Linked DNA regions of Homo sapiens: regions 2, 3, 4, 5, 6 and 7 are each linked to region 1. The links are contacts of gene promoters, found by promoter capture Hi-C in blood cells and fetal thymus (Javierre and others, 2016). All regions are on one chromosome and are shown on one strand. The core of a region is centred on a gene start or on the middle of the fragment in contact, and the rest is flanking DNA. Distances in the headings are between cores, read along the strand shown. Region 1 holds the start of ANKRD49 (ankyrin repeat domain 49). Region 2 has its middle 19 kb from the start of CEP295. Region 3 overlaps CEP295 (centrosomal protein 295). Region 4 overlaps CEP295 (centrosomal protein 295). Region 5 holds the start of SNORA25 (small nucleolar RNA, H/ACA box 25). Region 6 has its middle 13 kb from the start of MED17. Region 7 overlaps MED17 (mediator complex subunit 17).

Region 1 (3,426 bases), core at 927-3,426:
AGCCCCCAAAAGGACATCTGTTCCAATCTGTCATCGGTACATATATCTTTATCACAGCATCTACACTAATTATCCTATTTCTACTTTGATAATTTCAGGCCTAGGAAAATTCACTGCTTTAAAAAGTAGTCCTGTTTATTGATAGGCAACTATAGTTCTTAGTTGGGTCCTTGTTTTCAACTGAATTTTGGCTGTCATTCATTCCTTCATTCAACTAATATGAATAGAATGTCTGGTATGTGCCAACTTCTGGGTACTGGGATTCAATAATGAGCAAGATCCATGTCTTCACCTCAGGAAGCTTACTCTAGTGTAGGTGACTGGCAAAGACATCATGTGTCTGGCAAAGACAACATGATAAGTACTACTACAAGACCTTGTCTAGAAACCATGAGTATACAGGAGGTTCATAATTCCCCTAGTCCTAAGGGATTAAAGAAGGCTTCCTGAAGGAACTGATGTTTATTCTGCTAAGCTGCCATATTAATTTTTAAACCAATATCAGCTTAAAGGGTTACACAACATATAAACCTTAATCAATTAAAGAAAAGGAGAATAACCAATAGATAATTTACAAATACGAATTCCCAGCCTCTCAACTCTATTTGTTGAAATATAATCAGTCTTTCAAGGCTCTTCTCTGATGTTATCTCTTTCATTCTTTCTTGATCCTCTCATTTAGATCGCTTTCTGCTTTCTACTTTTTTTGGTGCTACATTTCACCTCTAACTTTGTTCTTGTTTTAGCCCCTTAAAAGATTATAAGCTGAAAGATAAGGACCACATTTAACTTATATTTATCTCCTACTTGTCTATAGAAGGCATTAAGAAGTATGTGTAGCATTACATTTAATTAAAGTCTTGTCACTTGATTTTGCCTGGAATGGATTCTGAGAAGTTCCAGAGTTAGGCATAACCCCAAGATACTGATTTCTTGATACCTAATCTCACAAGTTTAACAGTATACAATCTTAATGTGGTATTAAACTTTATTACTAGTGGCAATAGCACTAAACTCAAGTTTAAATGTATTACTCATGTCCAGTAACTTTTCTGGTCCTGTTACTTTATTGTAAAATGTAAGAATTTTACTAAAGTATTCCTAAGGCCAATCCGGCTTTTCAGTCACCCAATCAGAGACACCCTTGGAATCAGAGATATCCAATCAGAATTGCTCTGTGTTTTATTAATTCTCCTGGAGCTTCCACTTTTTCTTTGATTCTCAAACTAATTCCTGAACCTTGCAACACAAAAATGACCATACATCAATTCATTAAACACTTAACAGATGCTAATAAATAAAAGTTCACTTGTAATTATATCAAATATAGTAACCTTATACCACAGATCTTACCCTCTCCCCCAACATGCTTTTCCTTTCAATAAAAACTCCCTTTATATAAATTTTGAGTTTACAGATCCAGATACAAAAAATTATGTACAAAATTTTACTGGTATATTTAGTTTAAAAAGCCAAGCCTAGGCGCATCTACCCGACTTACAGTTAAGAAACAAAACTGATGACTTGATGATGATATTCCTGATATTCCATCAGGAATGTCAGGGTATGTTTCCTAACTTAAAGGGCATATCCTATTTTGAGAGAGATCCGAACTATGTCAACTCCTTACAAACAACTCAGTGATAGGCGGGGCTATAAACCTTACTGGTGAAGGAGGTTCAGATAGATTAAAACAACTTGCCCTAGATCAAGGACCCTTCAATGGAACTGAAAGGGCAGACGTTCTAATTCAAAAGTTCTACATTATTTTTCGCTGCACTATACATCTTACTGCTCTCAGCACAAAGCAGTGCAGATGTGCTGAACTCAAGGACCTAGGGGCGACACCTGTAGAGGGTCTGGCGACTGGGAGGGAGGGAGAGGGGATCCAGCTCCGGCACTCTGCCACCAGCCGGGAGCTCACAGGCCCGTGAGCTCCGCCTGCGGCCTTCCAAACAGCCAAGAGCGGAGAAGCGGCTTCGGTCCTACCTGGGGACCACGAAGCGGCCTGACCTGCAGGGCTCGGCCTGTGTCCACAGGCTACCCACCCCCACGGGCTCAGGAGTTCTTAGATGGCGCCGGTCCATCAAAAAGCGAGGTCCGGGACAGGGAATAACAACCCACCTGACAGAAGGGAAAATCGCCGCCTTGCATCTCACTTCCGGGTTCGTCTCCTAGCCTGCTCAGGATTGGCTCCTGCGTGAGGGCGGGGCCTCGCCGCTACTTTCCCCGCCCCCTCACTGCGTGCGGTAGCCAATGAGAGCCGAACTGGACTTGAAGCATCTACGTTATCCATGAAGTGTCGCGAGAGAAACGGACGCCGTTCTCTCCCGCGGAATTCAGGTTTACGGCCCTGCGGGTTCTCAGAGGCAAGTTCAGACCGTGTTGTTTTCTTTTCACGGATCCTGCCCTTTCTTCCCGAAAAGAAGACAGCCTTGGGTCGCGATTGTGGGGCTTCGAAGAGTCCAGCAGTGGGGTAATTTAGGAATCGCATTCGTCTCCTGTTTCTGCAGGTTCCCAGGCGGAAGCCCAGAGTTAACTGGAACCTCGGGAAGAGCGGGCCGAGTGGGCAGGGGAGGGGTCCTGGCGGGCTCAGCGTTCTGATTCCGAGGTTCCCTGCGGTGAGGGCGTGTTGAGGCTTGGAATCCCGACGGAATCTGGAGCTCCAGATGTGGTGGGGGTTGTCTCGCGGTGGCAGCCACTCTTCCCCAAACCTGGCTATTTTCAGTCATCCTGCTGGTGCTTAAAGGTGTTCCTCCGCAGACCACGTGTTTGTTTATTTACACTCGCTTTAAACGCGGGCCCGTTCCCTTTTCCAAACTAGCCAGGTCCTTTAAAAAAAATCGTGGGGTTTGAATAGGAAATACAGGATTGCCTCTGTTCTCCAGAGTAACCTATGCGTGCAACTTAAAAATATCTGCACATCTAGAGTTGTTTGTGTGTTGAACCAGAACCGTATGTGACCCTTTCTGCCCATTTATTTAGCATACATTAATTTCCCATAAGAGCACGGGAAAGGAAAATAGGAGTTTAATCATCTTGGTGAAACTAGGAAACAGGATGTACACTGGAGATATATTATTTTCTATGCTCAGTTCATTAAAAAAAAGTATAGTGGGTGCTTAGATGAAAATGAGACTTCTAAATTTGCCAGTCTAATTAAGACGTCTGTACCTTGTGCAGCGTAAATCATGTTGGTTAAATACGTGCAGGCTTTTAAAAAATGTGTTTTATGATGTAATTTTGTTTTTAGAATTTCTAGAATTTGGAATCGAGTGCATTTTCTGACATTTGAGTACAGTACCCAGGGGTTCTTGGAGAAGAACCTGGTCCCAGAGGAGCTTGACTGACCATAAAAATGAGTACTGCAGATGCACTGTAAGCACCTGACTTCTGGAATCCCTTGTTATTTGGGGTTTCTAAAGC
Region 2 (3,426 bases), core at 413-2,912, 850 kb after region 1:
GATAATGCTTAGTTTATTCAAAGGTGACCCTAGTATCAAGTAGGATTATATGTTCTGAGATGAGATTTTGTTAAAGGTTTTAACTTAGAAAGATGAAATCAGAGGTCTCAGGACATGACATACCACTACCCAGGTGCTGAAATCATCAAAAATCACAATGCTTTTCCCTGGGCCTATCTTTCCTCTCTGAAGATCAAGGTGTGTTGGGGCTGGAGTCAAACCTGGCAGTCTGTCTGTATGAAGTTGCTGTATGTGGTAGGAATTCAAGGATGTGTGAATCAGTTATGCTGTAGTAACGAATGAGACTCCCAAATATCAATATTTATAACAATAAAAGTTTATTTCTCACTCCTATTTCCAGCATGGGCCAGTTGCAGCTGTGTTCCACATCTCTGTGCTGAGTCCAGGCTGATAGGCCAGTCTCTTCCTGAAGCATTCCCTGTTGTTGAGACCTGGGGAAAAGAGATGGCAAGCCATGCTCTGGTTCCTAGTGGCACTTCTCACTTTTCACTGGCCATGTCAGCCTTAGCTACTCTGGAGTTCAACAGGGAAGGCTTCTATAATCCTCACAGAAAGGAGAATCAGAATATTTGGTGGCAAGTAAATCTAGTCTACTGCAATGAGTCGAGGGTTTTGAGGAACACATTTGGGATCAAAATTCAGGGGTCAAGTACAATGCATGACAGCAGGGCCATAAATGAAAGGGAAGACCAGTAAGGCTACAATCCACCAGAACTGAGGAGCACAGGGATTCGGAGCAAGGGTGGGATCAAGTGGGACTGTATGGACACCCTGGGCAGTTTGTGTTCCCTGATAGGTGCTAGCTGGGACATGGATGAGCTGGCTGGCTTAAAGGTTCACAAATGTGCAGACTTTGGGAACACAGCTTGTTAGGGTCCATCTGAGTAGTGTGAGCTGTCCATCTGGTGTTTGCTGACCCTCATTGCCTTGTTTTCTGCTCTCCACACTGATCACCCTGGGGAAACTGAGGCAGCATGTTATACCAGTGAGGGTTCTAGAACATTTCCCAGGTCTATGGCCTTAAGAGGATCATTTTTGGACATCGAGTACTTCTTTCTTAAAATAGATAATTTATATTGGACTTATATAATAAGTCCAATTTATATTGGACTTATTATATGAGTCCAATAATTTATATTGAAGGCTTTTAATTTATATTAAAAGCCTTCCAACCCACTTTAAAGAACTTTTGATTTAAAAAACCCATTAGGAGAGCCTTGCAGATAGCTACTTGTCTGGGATAAATGGTGATATATGAGGAGAAATAATCAAGAATGTTAAATTAGCTTTGTTTTTCTATTACTTGGAGCAATATCAAGGTAAACTCTGCTACCTAGAGGAAAAGACAAAGAATCAGTGCAAACAGGAACTTGGATTAGGCAAAGAAGCACAGGATCCAATTCTTCCCCTTTTAGACCTTGAGAAAAAGTGTAAGTGAGTTTGGTTCAGCAGTCTTTACCGCTCCTTTATTTAGTGTTCATCTCACGAGTTTGGAAACTGTGCCTCCTCTGCCGTCTTGCATCCCACTCAATACATGTACTACCCAGATTTGCCTCTCAAGGCCTGTCTCAGTGTCCCAAATCTTTTTCCCACTATTGAAATTACCGTTTAATTTCCTTGTTTAAGAGCACTACCTGAGGAATCTGTGAATAGACTAACTCAGAATAAATGACTGGTAACCAGTCAATATGTTACTCTTCCTAGGAAAATTTGCATTTAAAATCTTCCCAAGGACAATGCTTCAACTAAGAAAAGACTGCCGTAATGGTGCAATATGAGGCAATGCAGCTTGCCAGTAGGGGAGTTGTTTTGTTAGGGGCCCTTCCCTGGTTTATTTCTAGTCTCTTCTAAATAACCTGTATTTATGAGCACCCAGCTTGACAAACAATTCAAGCAGCCCAGCTGCTGGTGGCTTCTGCATAGTACTGTACCACTTTTCTTTTCTTTTTCTTTTTCTTTTTTTTTCTTCTCTTTTTTTTTTTTTTTTTTTTTTTTTTTGAGACAGAGTCTTGATCTATCCCCCAGGCTGGAGTGCAGTGGCATAATCTCGGCTCACTGCAACCTCTGCCTCCTGGGTTCAAGCTATTCTTACACCTCAGCCTCCTGAGTAGCTGGGATTACAGGCGCCTGCCACCATACCCGGCTAATTTTTGTATTTAGTAGAGATGGGGTTTTGCCATGTTGACCAGGCTGGTCTCGAACTCCTGACCTTAGGTGATCTGCCTGCCTCAGCCTTCCAAAGTGCTGGGATTATTGGTGTGGGGCACCGCACCTGGCCCCTGTACCACTTTTCTTCAAGATAGTTGTGAATCTGGGTCTCAGGTGTCTATGCCTGCATGGTCAGGAAAAAACTAGTCATTGTAACACTAGTTATAATTTATCATCAGCCTTCATGATTTCCCAAGCACTTTCACGTGGATTAACTTTGTTGATACTCAAAAAGCCTATGATGGAGGCAGTGCAGGTTTATTATCCCCCATTTTATGGATGTGGAAACTGACAGAGGGATTAAGTGACTTACCTAATTAGTTTCTCTATACCCAATCCAGTGATCTTTCTTCATGTAGTGCTGCTCCTTCAGCCTCTGGCACGGCCTGGACTGCTGGTGCTTAGAGTTTGGATCAGGCGGGTGAAAGTGCAAGATGGCAGGGCCACATCATCTGTCAAAGCCACTGATGTTTGGTATACCTAGGACATGGCCACAGTGTTTTGCCACGGGGCATCACCTGGTGGGGGAAGGTTCCTATATTGGTATTCTGCATCTGTATGGGTATTGATTTATTTCTCAAAGGGCTCTGTCTGCCATCTATCTAATGATGTTACTAATCTTCATCCCAGTCCTTTGAGGATTTTTATCCCAGTGCTTCAGAGGTGCCGGTTTCCAGGGTTACCAGAAATCCATAGATTAAAGCCTTTCTCCAGCTTTCTTGTCAAGGTCCTTATCAGTAGAATTTTTTTCATCATCTTCATTTTCTGGATGGTGTGTCTCTTACAACTTTTCTCTTTTACTTCTATCTGCAGTTAGTCTGTGAAGAATAATCCCCGAGAAGCTGCTTTGTGCAGAAGATGTAAAATAAATTATAGACACTGTGTCCTCAATGATTGTTTAAACAAAACCCAAACAACCCTACATCAGGGCCAATGTTGTGAGGTGGAAAGTGCTCTGCTTTTGAAACCAGCAGATCTGGGGCCTGTGGGACCCATCTCAGCTTGTCAGTAACTAACTGTGTGGTCCTGACCTAGTCCCGTAATGGCTCCTGGCTGAGTTTGTTTTAATAACTGCCATATTGGTTTGGGAGGCTTTGATGAGATGATTCTGTCAGACAGGGCTTCTCAAACTTTAATGGGCTTTGGAGTCACCTCTGAGAAATCCAGGTTAAAATTCAGATTCTAGGCTGGCTCATG
Region 3 (3,426 bases), core at 786-3,285, 810 kb after region 1:
TTCTCCATATACCTATCTCAGGTAAGCACCAAGACCCAGGGTGACTGTGGCTTAACATAGAATATTTCTTGTTACCTCACACTCTTATGAATTTCCATTATTAAAGGAGATCTGAATGTATTTCTTTAAGCTTAAAGAGTATGGCTAATATGAAAGTTTAATCAGTGTTTTAATGAGGTTATCTAATGGAATTTTGGTGGTAGAAGGTAAGGAGGGAGAACAAGGCAAGACTTCTTGTTCCTTGGGATGGGATAAGGATTTAGCCAGACAAAAGTGGCTGAAAGAGAATGAGTACATGTAAGAAAAAAACTGCAGCACAACAGTATGGAGATGAAGGCACGGGATATTCAGAAAATAGCACACTGTTCATTATAGCTAGGGCATGGAGGGCAAGGATGATTAGGGAAGGAAGATAAAACTGGAGAAGCAGGTAGAAGTCAAATATTAGTTAATATAGACACTAGAAGGAAATAAGGTCCCAGGCCACAATACAGTATGCAGCAAAAAGGTTCAGACAGGAAAAATGAAATCCTCTATTAGCAGTGAGATTGCACGGTTTTTTTTTTTAACAACCTTCTTATATAAGGAACATTAAGTCTACTATAACGTAGAGAAATCCTGCATTAAAAAAATGGTAATGGGCCAGGCACAGTGGCTCACACCTGTAATCCCAGCACTTTGGGAGGCCAAGGCAGGCAGATCACCTGAGGTCAGGAGTTCGAGGCCAGCCTGGCCAATATGGCGAAATCCCGTCTCTACTAAAAATACAAAGAGTAGCAGGGCGTGACGGCATGCGCCTGAAATGCCAGCTACTCGGGAGGCTGGGGCGGGAGAATTGCTTGAACCCAGGAGGCAGAGGTTGCAGTGAGCCAAGATCACGCCACTGAACTCTACCCTGGGCAACAGAGTGAGACACTGTCTCAAAAAATAAAAAATAAATAAAAATAAATTAAAAAGTGATAACATATATACATTACTTATTCTTTTGTAAAGTTTTAACTATTTTGTCTTTTGAGGATGAATTTTTTTTGCCATGTCCTGAAAAGGAAAATTATAAATGAACTTATTTCATTTATACTAAGATTCTAATTATCTAAAGTTGTTTGAGTAAGTGTACTATTCTAGCTCACTGCAAGCTAGTATATTATTCCTTTTGGATTATTTATAACAATGACCACTACCACTAACATTTACTGAGCTTATGAAATTCCAGGCACATTTCCAAGGGCTTTGGAAAACTCATTGAATCCTCACAAAACAGATGATCAGGAGAGGTGTGGCAGGGGAGGTTAAAAAAAAAAAACAAAAACAAAAAACAGCCAGGCTTGGTGGCCCACACCTGTAATCCCAGCACTTTGGGAGGTCGAGGCAGGCAGATTGTTTGAGGTCAGGAGTTCCAGCCTGGCCAACATGGTGAAACCCCGTCTCTACTAAAAATACAAAAAACTTGGGCTGGGCATGGTGGCTCACGCCTGTAATCCCAGCAATTTGGGAGGCTGAGGCAGGCGGATCATGAGGTCAGGAGATCGAGACTATCCTGGCTAACGTGGTGAAACCCTGTCTCTACTAAAAATATAAAAATTAGCCAAGCGTGGTGGTATGTGCCTGTAGTCCCAGCTACTTGGGAGGCCAAGGCAGGAGAGTCATTTGAACCCAGGAGGTGGAGGTTGCAGTGAGCCAAGATCACGCCATTGCACTCCCGCCTGAGTGATAGAGCAAGACTCTGTCACAAAAAAAAAAAAAAAAAAAAAAAAAAAAAATTAGCTGGGTGTGGTGACGCGAGCCTGTAGTCCCAGCTACTTAGGAGGCTGAGGCAGGAGAATTGCTAGAATCCGGGAGGTGAAGGTTGCAGTGAGCCAAGATCCCAGCACTGCACTCCAGCCTGGGCGACAGAGTGAGACTCCGTCTCAAAAAAAAAAAAAAAAACAACACATGAAACAGAACTTAGAGAGGTTAACTAATCTGCCTGAGATCAAACAGCTGAGTGGTGAAGAAGACAGATAAATCCTGGCAGAATGACTGTGAAGCCCACTTGCTTAACTACTAAACATTACTGCTTTTATGGAAGAATCTGTTCAATTTATGACTGCTTTTTGTGTCTGTTTTACTATAGGTTTAAACCTTAGATGGGGAGAATTACTGATAATAATTCAGACATTCAGTTATTTTAGTCATAATTCACTCCTAGTTTATGAAAGCTAAAAATTTAAGGGAGAAGCTCATGATTTAGTTCAAACTATAAAAATAACCTTTCATAAGAAAATTTAATTTCCAATGCATTTTTAAGAAGTACTTAAAAACTCATTCCTAAGATGGGTATTTAAAAAATCCAAATGCATTAGTCAAATTCAGAAAATAAAATCAGACTTCTAATAAGATGAATCATTTTTATGCTATATTTTAAGACTAAGCACTAAATGAACAATAAGCATGACAGAAGTTAAGCTAAAACTATAAAGCCAGCTTTCATTACAATATTTTACATATTGATGACAGTCACTATTTATTGATTGATTGACAGAATCTCACTCTGTCACCAGGGTGGAGTGCAATAGTGCAATCTCGGCTCATGACAGCTTCTGCCTGCCAGGCTCAAGCAATCCTCCTACCTCAGCCTTCTCGGGAAATGAGGTCCCAGGCCACAACACAGTCCCAAACTGGGACTGACTGTATTGACTCTGTAGTCCCAGGCCACCACGCCTGGCTAATTTTTGGAATTTTGGTAAAGACAGGGTTTCACCATGTTGCCCAGCCTGGTCTTGAACTCTTGGGCTCAAGCCATCTGCTCACTTTGGCCTCCCAAAGTGTTGGGATGACAGGCCTGAGACAGGCCTGAGCTACCTCGACTGGACTTGACAGTCACTTTTTATTTAATTTTTTTTGAGACAGGGTCTCGCTCTGTGGCCCAGGCTGGCGTGCAGTGGTATGGTGTGATTTCAGCTCAACGCAACCTCCTTGTCCCGGGCTCAGGTGATCCTCCCACCTTGGCCTCCTGAGTAGCTGGGACTACAGCCGCACACCACCATGCCTGGCTAATTTTTCTGTTTTAAGTAGAGACGTGGTTTCTCCATGTTTTCCAAGCTGGTCTTAAACTCCCGGGCCTATGCGATCTGCTCGCCTTGGCCTCCCAGAGTGCTGGGATTACAGGCATGAGCCACCATGCCTGGCCTATTGACTGTCACTTTTTAAAAGCTCCGGTAGCAAGGATCATGACTTTATTTTTGAAACAACATTCTGCAAAGCCAACAAGTGCTTTGCTCAATACAAATTTAATGAACTGAATCCTCAAATTTATAGAGCACATATGCTATTGAAATAATCAGGAAAGTGATTTTTTTCCTCAGGCTGTTTTTGGACATATTAAAATATTAAACTTTTAATAAATTCATTAGTAAAATTTTTAGAATAGCAATACACTGGGAGAAT
Region 4 (3,426 bases), core at 259-2,758, 790 kb after region 1:
TCTTCTGAAGCCAAATGATTATCATCAGAGTTGTTCCTATCTGCATGCCTAATATTTTCTTGATCATTTCCTGCTAGGTCTTGTGTATTAGGAAACCAGTCTCTGAGCTGCCCCATCTTCTGGGTTTTTAAATCATTTTCAACTGTGGGCTTACTTATCTGAAAAAGTGGAGATGAGGGTGGGGAAGCACAAGTTGGGGGATCATGTGAAGCATTATTCATTAGATTTATATCTCCCTTCTTAAATTAGAACGTAAACCAAATAAATAGTTCCATCAATCACAAAATTTTATCTATATATAAAAAATAAGATATGCTTCTAATGCCAAAAGGATATTTCCATTGAAAATACAACCATTCGGCCAGGCGCGGTGGCTCACGCCTGCAATCCCAGCACTTTGGGAAGCCAAGGTGGGCAGGACACCTGAAGTCAGGAGTTCAAGACCAGCCTGGCCAACATGGTGAAATCCCGTCTCTACTAAAAATACAAAAATTGGCTGGGCGTGATTGTGCATGCCTGTAATCCTGGCTACTTAGGAGGCTGAGGCAGGAGAATCACTTGAACCTGGAAGGCAGAGGTTGCAGTGAGCCAAGATCGTGCCACTGCACTCCAGCCTGCAGCCTGGGCAGCAGAGCAAGATTTCGTCTCAAACAACAACAACAACAACAACAAAAACAACAACCATTCACAGCCTTGGACTTAAAAACTTAGCCTACAGCCAGGTGCAGTGGCTCACGCCTGTAATCCTAGCACTTTGGGAGGCCGAGTTGGGCAGATCATGATGTCAGGAGATTGAAACCAGCCTGGGCAACATGGCAAAACCCTGTCTCTACAAAAAATACAAAAGTTAGCTGGGCATGGTGGTGCATGCCTGTAATCCCAGCTACCCGGGAGGCTGAGGCAGGAGAATCGCTTGAACCAGGGAATCAGAGGTTGCAGTGAGCCAAGATGACGTCACGGCACTCCAGCCTGGTGACAGAGCAAGACTCCGTCTCAAAAACAAACAAACAAACAAACAAAAAACAAACAAAAAAAAACTTAGCCTCCATTTCATCTTTCCATAAGAGATTATATTTGAGTATTTCCCTCTGCTTTTCTTTTGCCATTACTTTTCCTTTAAATGACCAGTAAATCTCTTGACGTTAACTCTTCCTGAACCCAACTCAAGCTTCTTCTCGACATCAAAGGATTTGTAGAATTCTATTTAGACTAAATAATAAATTTAGGAAGTGGCCTTTCATTTATTTATTTTTTTGAGATAGGGTCTCCCTCATCGCCCAGGCTGGAGTACAGTGGCATAATATGGCTCACTGCAGCCTCAACCTCCTGGGCTCAAGTCATCCTCCCACCTAAGCCTCCAGAGTTGCTAGGACTAGAGGTACATGCTACCATGCCTGGCTAATTTTTGTATTTTTTGTAGAGACAGGGTTTTGCCATGTTGCCCAGGCTGATCTTGAACTCCTGGGCTCAGGAGATCCACCTGCCACGGCCTCTCAAAGTGCTGGGATTATAAGGCCTGAGTCACCATGTCCAGCAGAACTGGCCTTTTAAAATAAAACAGATACATTCAAATTTAGAACATACCCTTGTCTCCCAGATAGGGCAACTATGAATGAGTCACTGGGCCGAGTCTTATGAACAATTCAGATAAAAGCAGCAGGTCCAGCTCTACATCAGCCTAAAATCATGCCCGTTTTACAACAAACCATAATAGTGTCACTTGAGAAAAAAGATGGTATTGATTTTGATTTGTATATAAATGTCAACAAAGAGCACAATGTCTGTTGCTGCATAAGAGAAATTCTGCTAACCAGTTATTTTTACAATTTAAATCTTATGGTAAGCTTAAAATACATTAAAACAAAACTCTAAAATAAGAATCTACATTGTTTTGTGGTGTGTTTGCAGGTGAAATTAATTGAGCTTTGGGTCAGGTGTGGTGGCTCACACCTGTAATCCCCGCACTTTGTAATCCCAGCAACATGGGGAAACCCTGTCTCTATTAAAAAAAAAAAAATACAAAATTTAGCCAGGCATGGTGGTACATGTCTGTAATCCCAGCTACTTGGGAGACTGAGGCACAAGAACCACTTAAACCCAGGAGGTAGGGGTTGCAGTGAGCCGACATGGTGCCACTCTACTCCAGCCTGGACAACAGAGCGAGACCTTGTCTCAAAAAAAAAAAAAAAAAGCAAAAACAAAAGAAAATTTAAAAAAATTAATTGGACTTCACGTAACTATTAACCTCATAAACACCATGTGGGTGGATCGATTTTTGTTTTAACTTCCACATCATTTAGGGTGAAAAATCAAAGCACAGTTAAGGTCAAACTACTTTTTCTCAATAACTGAAAACTTGTAATCCTAGTATTAAAAACTGATTTGGGTTTAAACTTCTAGTGTTTCATTATTATTCAGGTTTAAAACATACCTGACTGTCTTTAAAGAAATCCTTCAAAGTCTCTTCATGTTTCTGTATCTGCTGCTGCAATGCTGTTTGTCTCTGTACAAGCAATTTTTCCTGGGCTTTCTGGCTATAATGCAGAACTTCTCTTTGTAGATCCAACTGTTTCTGAAGTCCCAAGTTATCTTGCTGAGTTAAGACAGACTGTGAAAAACTCAAAAGTCTATCTTGAAACCCTGGGATCACAGGATTACTTGGGGGGGCTGCATGTTCATTCTGGGATGAATACAATTCACAAGTGCTTTTAGGTTTAGCTTCTGCAAAAGGTAGTGGAATAAACGAATGCTCTGTTTCCTTGGGTAGAAACAAAGAGGGGATAGTATGCTCAGCAGATTCACTTTTGTTCAACTTTCTTTGTTTGTTTAAAGACAGTTCTTCCTGGGGTTTCTCATAAGAATACATCACTTCCCTTTGTGCATCCAATTGTGCTGTCATATTATCTTGCTGAGGCAGAATAGGCTTTGATAAACTCAAAAGTCTATCCTGTAATCTTGGAATCTCACGATGACTTGAGGGAAGAGTATCATTACTTTTGGTTGGGAAAGACTTCTGGGTTCTTTCAGAGTCAGCAACAGGCACCTGGGATACAAATGAAGAGGAGCAAACTTGTTCAGATGATACCCTTTTCTCCAATTCACTTAATCTTTGCAAAAGCAATTCTTCTTGGACTTCCTGTATAGATCGAATGGCTTTCTTCTGTGTATCTAACTGCTGTTGAAGTGCCTGCAAATCACCATGGTGAGACTGGATAAAATGCTCAGAAGATACCTTTTCCTCAAATTTACATGGTTTTGACAAAACCAATTCTTTCTGGGTTTTCTCAATAGAAGGAAGGAAATCTGTCTGTGCATGCAAGTGTTCTTCAAGTGCAATCAAATTATCTTGTTGAGGTAAAACAAGATGTGATAAACCCAACAGCCCATCAGGCAATGTTGGTATCTCTGAGTGACCTGAGGATACTA
Region 5 (3,426 bases), core at 320-2,819, 760 kb after region 1:
TTTCCCAGTAGGTTTTCTATCTGCTACTTTGCTAGCAATCAGCTTATTGGGAACAGTTGATTAACTGTAATAGAAATGCAATACAAATAAAATGTGAACCACATGTGATTTTTCTTTAAAATCAGTGAGATTTGAAAATTCTCCTAGATCTCTTGAATCATGCAAATTTGCTTTGCCTTTATATTGTAACCCTTGTGGGTTGCTAATAACCAAGCAGTTTGTAGTAGAGTTAACTCAGGCTCGTTCTAGGGACTCATTCATGTTCACTCACTGTACACTCATCTCTGGAAATGTAAAATTTACTTTTATACTATTGTTATGTAGGGCTGACAGGACAACTGGATCAGTTTCATTAAAAAGGTATGTATGCATTAGAAAAGACATTTGTATGGGTCATTTCAAAGAGGGCTTATGAGGCTGTGAAACCCAGAGCTCTTAACGCTGTGACCAAAGATGGAAGTTCTCTATAGGAAGCCATAGCACTCCTAATGTTTGGTGCTATGTTTTCCTGAGGAGATATAAAACGTAATAATCCAGGATTGTTGCCATGTGAGAGTTTTAAAGGTTAATCAAAATTTCTCTTCTTCAGGGCAAACTTGAAGATAAATCTTTTGACTCCAGCTCTTTAGAGGATCTAAAGTGACCTTGATGGACAGTGGAAGAAATCACAACATGGAATTCCTCGAATAACAATTTATTGACTTTAAATAATTTTGTCTAATGCTACATATACACAATTAAAAAACCTTTACACTATTTCTAGAAAGTCAGCATGTATTTTTGGCTCGAAGTTTCTCTAGTGTTTTCTGTGGAAGGAATAAAAATTTGAGTTTCAGTTGTGTACTTCATGCTTGAAAAATTAAGTCCTTCTCCCTCAGTTATACTCACCTTATGGAATTCTTTTGCCCTTGCTCTGTTTTGGGCATAAGCTTCTTGTTTTGTTTTTTCTTCCTTTTGTTGTTTCACTTCAGCTAGTTGATTGTATAACCTGTAAAGAATTTATATAGAATTAGAGACAAACACTGCAAAAAGTGAATCACTAAAAAAAAAAAAAAAATTAACCCTACCTTAGACCCCTTTGGTGCCTTAGAGCCTGTGTAGTCTTTCTGTCTTCAGGAAAAGATGCTCTGACTTTATTCACGCCCTTTAGACGACTCACAGATGAACCTGAGGAAAGAAAAGTGAAATCAAGTTGTAAACACAAGGCTTTAAACATTTCAGGGAGTTGGTTGAAGATTTTAAAAATTCAACATACTTATAGATGGTTTCTCTTTAACTGTTTTGATTTGAGAATTTTCAGAGACATGAATTTTATTCCTTATTTCTTTCTGCCTCTGGTGGGATCTCTCCATAAATGATTTTTTCCTCTTTATAAATGCTTCTTGTAAGCTCCCTGGTACAGGTGTAAGCCTGCGAGGGGTTTCTGCTGGGGGAAAAGAAATTTATGACAGAAATAGGCAAAGTATCTACTTTCCATTAGAAGTGTGGAGGCCGTCCAAGGCTTACCTGTAGATGCTGTCCTTGGTTTTTCTATGGAAAGTTCTGATACAGCTGGATAATCTGAGGCTTCTGTTGCTGATACAAGAGGCAGAAACTCACTCACCTAATGGCAAGAAAGTTGCATGTTTTACTCTTTTTAAACGCTTTAAGCGGGTCTTGCTCTGCTGTCAGATTAGAGTGCAGCGGCATGATCACACCTCACTGCAGCCTCAATCTTAGCTGGGTCTACAGAGACCCGCCACCATGCCTGATTTTTGTATTTTTTGTAGGGATTGGGTTTTGCCTTGTTGCCCAGGCTGGTCTTGAACTGGGCTTAGGCTCCACTGCCCTCACACCTCTAGGCCTCTGTTTAGATAGCTTTATTCTTATTGCCTCCCTACTCCCCTAGTAAAATTACCAGTTGTTCTGAAGTCATTTTTCAATATCTGGGAATAAGTTTAGGTAAAACTTCCAACTTGGCACTATAACACTAGGTGTATAAGATTAGTTCTGCCAGTCTTGGAGACAGGCATAAATTGGAGTGGGGATTAAAAGAAAATGCACAATGGTTGACAGAATAGTGAAGGTTTAAGACAAATTGAGAGCTGGTGGGGGTGTCGGCTTAGTTAAATGCATAGCATAATTCCCTCCAATGAGTACCTTCTGATAAGTTGTAAGAGACAAATCAACTGGTTTGCTTGTAATAGAATAAAATAGAAGGAAAGCTTAAATTTACCTGAAAGAAGCATTTTGCTTCATTCTCGCTCTTCTCTTCTAGGGTTAAATTTGCAAAATCCATTTCAGCAATACTGGTATCAGTGGTGCTTATTAAAGTAAGTTCTGGTTCTTCCATTATACCATGGCCAGTTTCTGTTTCCTGTGAACCACAATTAAAAGGAAAACCATGTCAAAATAGCCTTAAAAGACTTAAACTAATCGTTTTGTATATAATGCACATTTTTTGCAAGTGTATATAAATGTGAAAATGGAGGAAGAAAAGCAATGATTGGCAAAGACCAACAGATCAGATTTCCTTAGGCTTCCATAACTCCAGCATTCAGTTGTAGAAATACTGGAGCCTACTTTGGGGAGGGGATGAAATAGTGTGACAATGGACTGAAAGGTATCTACCACAATGATTACAAACCTAAATGCTTGTAGTGTTGGGCAAAAAATATAAATGCAGGTTGGCTGTGCCGAATTGTATCCTTTAAAGGGAGCAGGGGTCGACTGGGCTGCTACCAAATGTGGGCCACTGACTGCTAACAGATAATGTTTCAAAAGTATCTAAACACAACAAGAACAAAAGCAGCCACATAAAACGTGGTTTAGTTGTAATTCTTATTTTCAATCTGTTATGTTTATTTGTGGAAGGATAAACTGCACATACTGCTAGATGAAAACCAGTCACCAGTTGACTGGTGTTGAAAGCAAGCAGATTATAAGTTGCTTAATATGAGGAGCAGGTTTCCAATACTTATTCCAATAATGGATGAATTCATTGCACTGGAATGAGGCTCAACACTGAAAGTGCTGAAGCACAGGCAGAACCACCATTTTTCAGGGAAGTTGGAGAAAGGATATCTGAATTGGGAGAAAAAGGATCTTTTGTAAAATACTCTCAGAAGACAGTTTTCAAATTTTTAAGTTTCTGCATTATGCTGGATATTTCTAGTGATCACAAGCTGGATAGCAATATTAACAAGCAGTTTTGCTTGTATTTTGTTTCAGGTTTTTCCTGCCAGGCATTGTGGTGTGTCCAAACTACTTCGGAAGTTGAGGCAGGAGGATCCCTTGATCCTAGGAGTTTGAGTTCAGCCTGGGTAGCATAGTGGGAACTTCATCTCTAATTTTAGAAGAAAAAAGTTTTTTCCCAAAAAGGAATTTAAATGTTATTTATACAACACTGATTTCACTTACCCAGACTGGTATAGAGCTCTGTAATGA
Region 6 (3,426 bases), core at 927-3,426, 720 kb after region 1:
TCCTGGGAACCAGAGTGAAGACTTGTGGTGCCTTTTCTTGGCCTATCCATGGCCGCCCTTGGACCAATTAGCGCACACTTCTTCCCCTCTGAGGCCCATAAAAGCCCCAGGCTCAGCCAGAGCAAAGCAAAGGACAGAGAGATGACAGGACAACCTGCCTACAGAGAGGAGCCACCAACTCTAGGGCCTCCTCTCTGGTGAGAGCTACAGATGGCGAGACAACCCACTGCAGAGAGGAGCTACTCTCTCTGCTGAGAACTGAACAATTGTTGGGACGACCTGCCTGCAGAGAGGAGCTACCCTCTCTGCTAGGAGCTGAACACTCATCAGGACACCCTGTCTATGGAAAGGAGCTGCCCACTGCAGGTCTTCTTTGAGCTGTTCTAATGCTCATTGAAGCTCCTTTTCATCTTGCTCACCTTTCACTTGTCTGCATACCTCATTCTTCCTGGTTGCAGGACAAGAACTTGGGACTCGCTGAAAGGCAAGACTAAAAGAGCTGTAACACAAACAGGGCTGAAACATGCCCCTTGCTCACCACATTGTGGGTGGAGAGAAGAAGAGCGGCAGCCCTTTGGGGAGGCCAGACCTGGAAACTCCCTGAGCCAGGGCTGTGACTCCCTCTTTGAGGCCCTGCAGTTTCTGATGTCTCCAAGCTTCCGGACACCACCGCATTCCCCAATGCCAGCTGGGGAAGCAGCTTGTAGTGCACCTGGTGCAGCCAGCATGTCTGACTGTGCAGTGGCTGGATCCCATACTTGCTCAGATACCCCTCACCTCTCCATGCCTGACTCACAGTCTTTCTTGGAGGCATGGGATCCCAGCCAGTAGCATGAGCTGAGCACAGCCTGCCAGGCTGAATGGGTGGAATGAGTCCAGTGTGCCTGAACAAAGCTCAAGCAAAGGCACTACCAGCCACAGGTTTCCAGCCAGAAAAGTGACACCCCAAAGATCCCGTAACAAAACTCCTGGGCTTAAGCAATCCTCCCACCTGGGCCTTCCAAAGTGCTGGGCCTACTGGCATAAGCCACCATGCCCAGCCCATTGTTTAATTTTCAACTGTTCTGAAAGGGATGCTTTTTTTCATGCAAAGTTCTATATTTTGTAATTGTGTGGGAAACAGGTTGTTGTGCTAAGTCTTGGTGCTGGCCAAGGCTTATTCCATCTTGGCCAGCACCAGAAGTTCAAATTCATGTTTGTTTGTTTGTGTTTTTGTTTTTTTTTAAAGATGAGGTACATTAGTCAGAGTTTTCTAGAGAGACAGAATAGGATAGATGTATATATGAAGGGGAGTTTATAAAGGAGTATTGACTCACACAATCACAAGGTGAAGTCTCATAATAGGCCGTCTGCAAGCTGAGGAGCAATGAAGTCAGTCTGACTCCCAAAACCTCAAAAGTAGGGAAGCTGATGGTGCATCCTTCAGCCTGTGGCCAAAGGCCCAAGAGCCCCTGGAAAACCACTGGTGTAAGTACAAGAGTCCAAAAGCTGAAGAATTTGGAGTCTGATGTTTGAGATCAGGAAGCATCCATCACGGGAGAAAGATAAAGGGTGGAAGACTCAGCAAGTCAGCTTCTCCCACCTTCTTTTGCCTGCTTTTTTTCTAGCTGCACTGGCAGTTGATTGGACGGTGCCCACCCACATTGAGGGTGAGTCTGCCTTTCCCAGGCCACTGACTCAAATGTTAATCTCCTTTGGCAACACCCTCACAGACACATTGAGGAACAATACGTTGCATCTTTCAATCCAATCACGTTGACAGTATCAACCATCACACAAGGTCTCACTCTGGTCACCCAGACTGGAGTGCAATGGCAGGATCTCAGCTCGTTGCAGCCTTTGCCTCCTGGGCTCAAGCGATCCTCCAGCCTCAGCCTTCTAAGTAGCTGGGACTACAGGCATGCACTACCACATCTGGCTATTTTTTTGTGTTTTCGGTAGAGACAGAGTTTCTCCATGTTGCCCAGGCTGATCTCGAACTCCTGGGTTTAACAGATCTGCCCACCTCAGCCTCCCAGAGTGCTGGGATTACAGGTGTGAGCCACTGTGCCTGGCCCATGTATTCTTTAGTAAATTTCTCTTGTTATGATATTCAGTTTCCTTTAACATGTTGTTAAAAGAAAAATTTTAGACAAATTAAACGGAGCTTAATTGAACAAAGAACAATTCTTGAATTGGGCAACCCCCAGAACAGAATAGGTCCAGAAGTGACTCCAGTGCTGCCAGATGGTTGGAGAGGATTTAAGGACAGAAAAAGGAAAGTGGCCTACACAAAATGGAAGGGAGGTACAGGAACAGCTGGATTGGTTACAGCTCAGCATTTGCCTTATTTGAAGGTGGTTCGAACAGTTGGCCGCCTGTGAGTGGTTGGAGTATGGCTGCTGTGATTGGTTGAGACTTGGCTACTTGTTACAAGAGTAACAGTCTGTGAACCCAAAATATCTGAGACAGGTCTCAGTCAATTTAGAAAGTTTAATTTGCCAAGGTTAAGGATGCACTGTGACATAGCCTCAGGAGGTCCTGACAACATGTGCCCAGGATGATCAGAGCACACGTTGGTTTTATACATTTTAGGGAGACATGAGACATCAATTAATCTGTGTAAGATACACATTGGTTCCCTCAGATAAGGCAGGACAACTCTATGTGGGGACTTCCAGGTTAGAAGTAGATAAGAGATAAAAGGAAAAGGTTGCATTCTTTTGAGTCCTTGATCAGCCTTCCACTGAATACACAATTTAGTCTGGCTCAGTGACTGTGCATATTGTTTTTACATAAACAATAGGGCAGAGAAAACAATCAGATATGCATTTGTCTCAGGTGAGCCTCAGAGGGATGACTTTGAGTTCTGTCTGTCCTTTGTCCACAAGGTATTGTGGACAATTGTGAGGGAGGTATATAGCTTCTTCTCTTTGTAGCTGTCTTATTTAGGAATAAAATGGGAGGCAGGTGTCTGACATAGTTCCCAGCTTGACTTTTCTTTTGGCTTAGTGATTTTGGGGTTCCAAGATTTATTTTCCTTTCACAAGTCCATTTACACATCCAGTTAGATTACATTTCACTAGGTATGGAGAAACTTTTAGGCCAAACTTAAAATATGTAAGGAGGCAGCTTTTAGGCTAAACTTAATTTAACAGTGTACAGTACAATATAGGGCAATACTGGCCGGGTGCAGTGGCTCACGCCTGTAATCCAAGCACTTTGGGAGGCTGAGGCAGGCGGATTACCTGAGGTCAGGAGTTCGAGACCAGCCTGGCCAACATGGCAAAACCCCGTCTCCACTAAAAATACAAAAATTAGCTGGGCCTGGTGGTGTATGCCTGTAGTCCCAGCTACTCCAGAGGCCAAGACAGGAGGATCACTTGAACCTGGGAGGCGGAGATTGCAGTGAGCCAGGATTGCACCATTGCACTCCAGCCTGGGCAA
Region 7 (3,426 bases), core at 553-3,052, 700 kb after region 1:
ATTTTGAAACGTAACACATAGCTGAGAAATAATACATTATAGAAGGATGTTTAACATTATACTTACACAGAAAGCATTGTTTTTGTTTGTGTTTTTGAGAGAGTCTCGCTCTGTCCCCCATGCTGGAGAGCAATGGTGCGATCTTGGCTCACTGCAACCTCCACCTCCTGGGTTCAAGCAATTCTCATGCCTCAGCCTCCCAAGTAGCTAGGATTACAGGTGCGTGTTACCACGCCTGGCTAATTTTTTGCATTTTTGGTAGAGATAGGGTTTTGCCATGTTGCCTGGGCTCATCTTGAACTCCTGGCCTCAAGTGATCCAACTGCCTTGGCCTTCCAAAGTGCTAGGATTACACGCATGAGCCACCACACCTGGCCAGAAAGTATAGTTTTTAATAATTATTCATACCTGCACTTCTGTAGCTCAGATCTCCGAGAATTTTATCTCCAACTTTTCGAAGTTTCCAGTGTTGCCGTAATCGCAAAAGCTCAGAATTGAAGTCTCTTTGTAGCTTGTTTTCTTGGTTTTCGGTAACTGATTTAGTCAGTCTTTCTGCCCCCTTCAATAAGATTTGTGCTGCTCCAGCAAGTGACTTCTTTTTAGATATCAATTGCAACGTCTGAGGATTCTGTCAAAAACAACCCAAACATGCAGTTCTGCAGGATTTTTAAATGACTCTAAAATTACACATTTTATCAATAATAAAATGAAGTGAACAAAAAGCAAAAAGGAGGGGCAAGTACACATAACAGTGTTTTTAATAAAATAATAACCTTAACCTATTTCTTTGTCCAACTCACTCAAAGCTTTACTTATGTTAAACCAAAAACACTACAATGGCCTCTACTCAGAACTTACCATTGCATCAACTCTGTCCAGCCTGTTAGGGTCCCCTCTTAATGTACTGCCATTCCTCTCCTTATATATTGCCAGCCCCCTATCCTGTACATACACACATATAGTTATATATAACCTTTTTGGCACTCATTATACTTCTGATTAACATCTATAATCTCTGCTTCAATGGTAACCTGCATGATGGCAGAAATCACTATATCCACAAACCCTAGAACAATGCCTGGCACATAATATTTGATTTAATGAATGAATGAATGACTGCAATGGGTATAACTGTAAAATTATCTTGTATTTTGTAGCTTACCATATTTTGCATCTTACCATAAGCTATTAAAGTGCTTTTGGAATTAGGACTAAAATCACACAGCATTAACTTTTTTTCTTTTGAGATGGAGTCTTGTTCTGTCACCCAGTCTAGAATGCAGTACCACCATCTTGGCTCACCATAGCCTTGACCTACTGGCTCAAGTGATCCTCCTGCTTCAGCTTCTTGAGAAGCTGGGACTCCAGATGTGCAACACCAAGCCTGGCTTTTTTTTTTTTTTTTGGTAGAGACAGGGTCTTGCTATGTTGCCTGGGAAAGTCTCAAACTCCTGGCTTCCTGCTTTGGTTCCCCAAAGTGTTGGAATTACAGGCATAAGCCACCGTGCCCTGCCATTGTTAATATTAAATGTACTTCACTGAATCCTAATTTTTTGGAAAACTGATCAGAAGTCACTATCTATGTATCACATATGCATATATAAATATCCACAATCACCATAATTTGTGTATTTTACTAACCAGTTTAATACAGTTTTCTGGCTGTATGAGAGTCAAAAATCACATAAAAAGCTTCATAAACATATCAAAATAATCTTTTGATTGTATTAGGGAACGTAAATAAAAGAGTTCCTGGAGATATTAAGAAATTCCTGGAGACTCCCTTCTGGGAAAAGCACAGAATAGTAGAAAAGGCAGTGGGGCTATGAGTTAGGTGCTGGAGTTCTAGTCTTGGCTCCCTAACTACTGGCTTGACAGCAACTTGAACATATTACAAATCTCTTTAAGCTTTAGTTTTCTCTCTATAAAATGAAGAATGCAGATTTAGGGAACTCTATTAGTCCCCCAGCACAATGTTTCTAGATTCTGAAACTATTACTATGTGAGTAATTCTATTCAATTAATTTTATTTACAAATGGGTTCTAACAGTCATTACTTCTTCTCCATGACTAATTTGGTTATGGTCTTGACACTTGTTTTCCTTAAGGACCCAAGTAGCCTCAATGATTTCAGACTATTCACCAACTCATCTTCCTGCTACTTCTCTTTCATCTTCAAATGTTCAAAAATTGAATACACTGTTTATGAAATAGCAGCAATTCTACCCAGCTCTCAATATGCTCCATAATTTCGCCTAACTTTTCTAATCCATCCCTTAAAAAAAAAGGGAAGGAAGGATTAGATGGAAAAACAGGGACTTAAGAGAAAATAACTTGCTTAATTTAAGGTCACACAGTTAATGAAGGCAGAGGCAGGATTCGAATCCAGGTCTACCTGATTCCAAAGCCATTATATCATCACATTTTTGTGTAATATATCACAGACCAAGGACCCAGGCTATAAGAATTTGTTAAGATTTGGTAACCTTTAAAGTATTACATTCTTTTTTTTTTTTTTTTTGGGATGGAATCTCGCTCTGTCGCCCAGGCTGGAGTGCAGTGGCGCGATCTCAGCTCACTGCAACCCCCGCCTCCCAGGCTCAAGCAATTCTCCTGCCTCAGCCTTCTGAGTAGCTGGGACTACAGGTGCCCACCACCACGCCTGGCTTATTTTTGTTATTTTTAATAGAGACAAGGTTTCACAGCATTAGCCAGGATGGTCTCGATCTCCTGACCTCGTGATCTGCCCGCCTTGGCCTCCCAAAGTGCTGGGATTACAGGCGTGAGCCACCACGCCTGGCCTTAAAGGTATTACATTCTTAATGAAACTTAACTCTTCCAAGGATCATAGGTATATAATAAAAAAATAAAGGAAATGCAGTTGTATGGCTTTGTTTTAGACCAGTTAGTCTTTAAATCTTCATCTGGACTTAATTTTGCAAGAAAGGAAAATGGAACAACAGGCACAAAGCCAAAAAAGGGTCCTGGGATTTAATAAATAAAATTTTATTATTCAATTAAAGTCCACAAATACCTGTTTTGGAGGAAGTGCATCCTGAGAGACAGGATCAAGAGTCATAAATTTTTTATCCCTAACAATACTGAGAACATCATAGAGAACACACATCTCTGTCAGGGCACTTCTCAAATTGTTCCTCACTGAGTCCCAAGGCCAAAGGGAAGGCTGAAATTTTACCACTCCTAAAAAGAGAGAGAGAAAAAAAAGAAATACAGAAGTATTCGTTACATTGAATGGCAGACAGCTCACTTAGGTTTAAAAAGTACTAAAAGGAGAAATAATTAATTAAATTTCAAATTGTTCTCTTATTTATGCCATCTCCTCTACCGTTTCTTAAAACTTTGTTAACATTCACATTAGCATTCCTACAATCGCAAAATGAATATGACATCTATTTCCACAGGTTA

The links. The method cuts DNA at HindIII sites, captures the fragments that hold promoters and counts their contacts. A CHiCAGO score of 5 or more calls a contact.
Region 2: a contact is called between a fragment that was not itself captured here and the fragment with the promoter of ANKRD49 in region 1, in 4 of 17 cell types (total CD4 T cells, naive CD4 T cells, naive CD8 T cells and 1 more). The highest score is 7.2, in total CD4 T cells.
Region 3: a fragment that was not itself captured here is called in contact with the fragment with the promoter of ANKRD49 in region 1 in 5 of 17 cell types (total CD4 T cells, naive CD8 T cells, total CD8 T cells and 2 more); the score reaches 6.9 in total CD4 T cells.
Region 4: a contact is called between a fragment that was not itself captured here and the fragment with the promoter of ANKRD49 in region 1, in 8 of 17 cell types (megakaryocytes, total CD8 T cells, total B cells and 5 more). The highest score is 8.4, in megakaryocytes.
Region 5: a contact is called between a fragment that was not itself captured here and the fragment with the promoter of ANKRD49 in region 1, in 13 of 17 cell types (naive CD4 T cells, total CD8 T cells, total CD4 T cells and 10 more). The highest score is 14.0, in naive CD4 T cells.
Region 6: a fragment that was not itself captured here is called in contact with the fragment with the promoter of ANKRD49 in region 1 in 1 of 17 cell types (M0 macrophages); the score reaches 5.7 in M0 macrophages.
Region 7: a fragment that was not itself captured here is called in contact with the fragment with the promoter of ANKRD49 in region 1 in 16 of 17 cell types (total CD8 T cells, naive CD8 T cells, naive CD4 T cells and 13 more); the score reaches 22.8 in total CD8 T cells.

The regions. Positions count from the first base shown.
Region 1 is chr11:94,492,734-94,496,159 of GRCh38, reverse strand. It overlaps ANKRD49 (ankyrin repeat domain 49), which reads right to left and starts at 2,176. Exons shown (of 3, transcript NM_017704.3): 1 at 2,125-2,176. MRE11 (MRE11 double strand break repair nuclease) reads left to right here and starts at 2,316. Exons shown (of 20, transcript NM_005591.4): 1 at 2,316-2,369; 2 at 3,254-3,378. The coding sequence starts at 3,359. RefSeq lists an enhancer at 1,877-1,966. The HindIII fragment of the contact is 5,313 bases long and covers 304-3,426 here.
Region 2 is chr11:93,640,992-93,644,417 of GRCh38, reverse strand. No RefSeq gene overlaps it. Among named protein-coding and RNA genes, the nearest start is that of CEP295, 19 kb to the left of the region's middle. The HindIII fragment of the contact is 6,443 bases long and covers 1-3,426 here.
Region 3 is chr11:93,679,738-93,683,163 of GRCh38, reverse strand. The region is part of intron 7 of CEP295 (centrosomal protein 295); the gene reads right to left. Among named protein-coding and RNA genes, the nearest start is that of CEP295, 20 kb to the right of the region's middle. The HindIII fragment of the contact is 3,806 bases long and covers 133-3,426 here.
Region 4 is chr11:93,699,192-93,702,617 of GRCh38, reverse strand. It overlaps CEP295 (centrosomal protein 295), which reads right to left. Exons shown (of 30, transcript NM_033395.2): 15 at 2,432-3,426; 16 at 1-158. Among named protein-coding and RNA genes, the nearest start is that of SNORA25, 30 kb to the left of the region's middle. The HindIII fragment of the contact is 676 bases long and covers 1,171-1,846 here.
Region 5 is chr11:93,727,611-93,731,036 of GRCh38, reverse strand. CEP295 (centrosomal protein 295) reads right to left here. Exons shown (of 30, transcript NM_033395.2): 24 at 3,400-3,426; 25 at 2,216-2,356; 26 at 1,507-1,603; 27 at 1,256-1,423; 28 at 1,068-1,167; 29 at 889-988; 30 at 679-806. The coding sequence ends at 768. It overlaps SNORA25 (small nucleolar RNA, H/ACA box 25), which reads left to right and starts at 391; the gene lies at 391-524. SNORA32 (small nucleolar RNA, H/ACA box 32) reads left to right here; the gene lies at 1-58. It also overlaps a transcript of TAF1D not described here. The HindIII fragment of the contact is 1,275 bases long and covers 932-2,206 here.
Region 6 is chr11:93,769,657-93,773,082 of GRCh38, reverse strand. No RefSeq gene overlaps it. Among named protein-coding and RNA genes, the nearest start is that of MED17, 13 kb to the left of the region's middle. The HindIII fragment of the contact is 3,035 bases long and covers 659-3,426 here.
Region 7 is chr11:93,787,776-93,791,201 of GRCh38, reverse strand. It overlaps MED17 (mediator complex subunit 17), which reads right to left. Exons shown (of 12, transcript NM_004268.5): 2 at 3,035-3,201; 3 at 409-628. Among named protein-coding and RNA genes, the nearest start is that of MED17, 5.2 kb to the right of the region's middle. The HindIII fragment of the contact is 216 bases long and covers 1,695-1,910 here.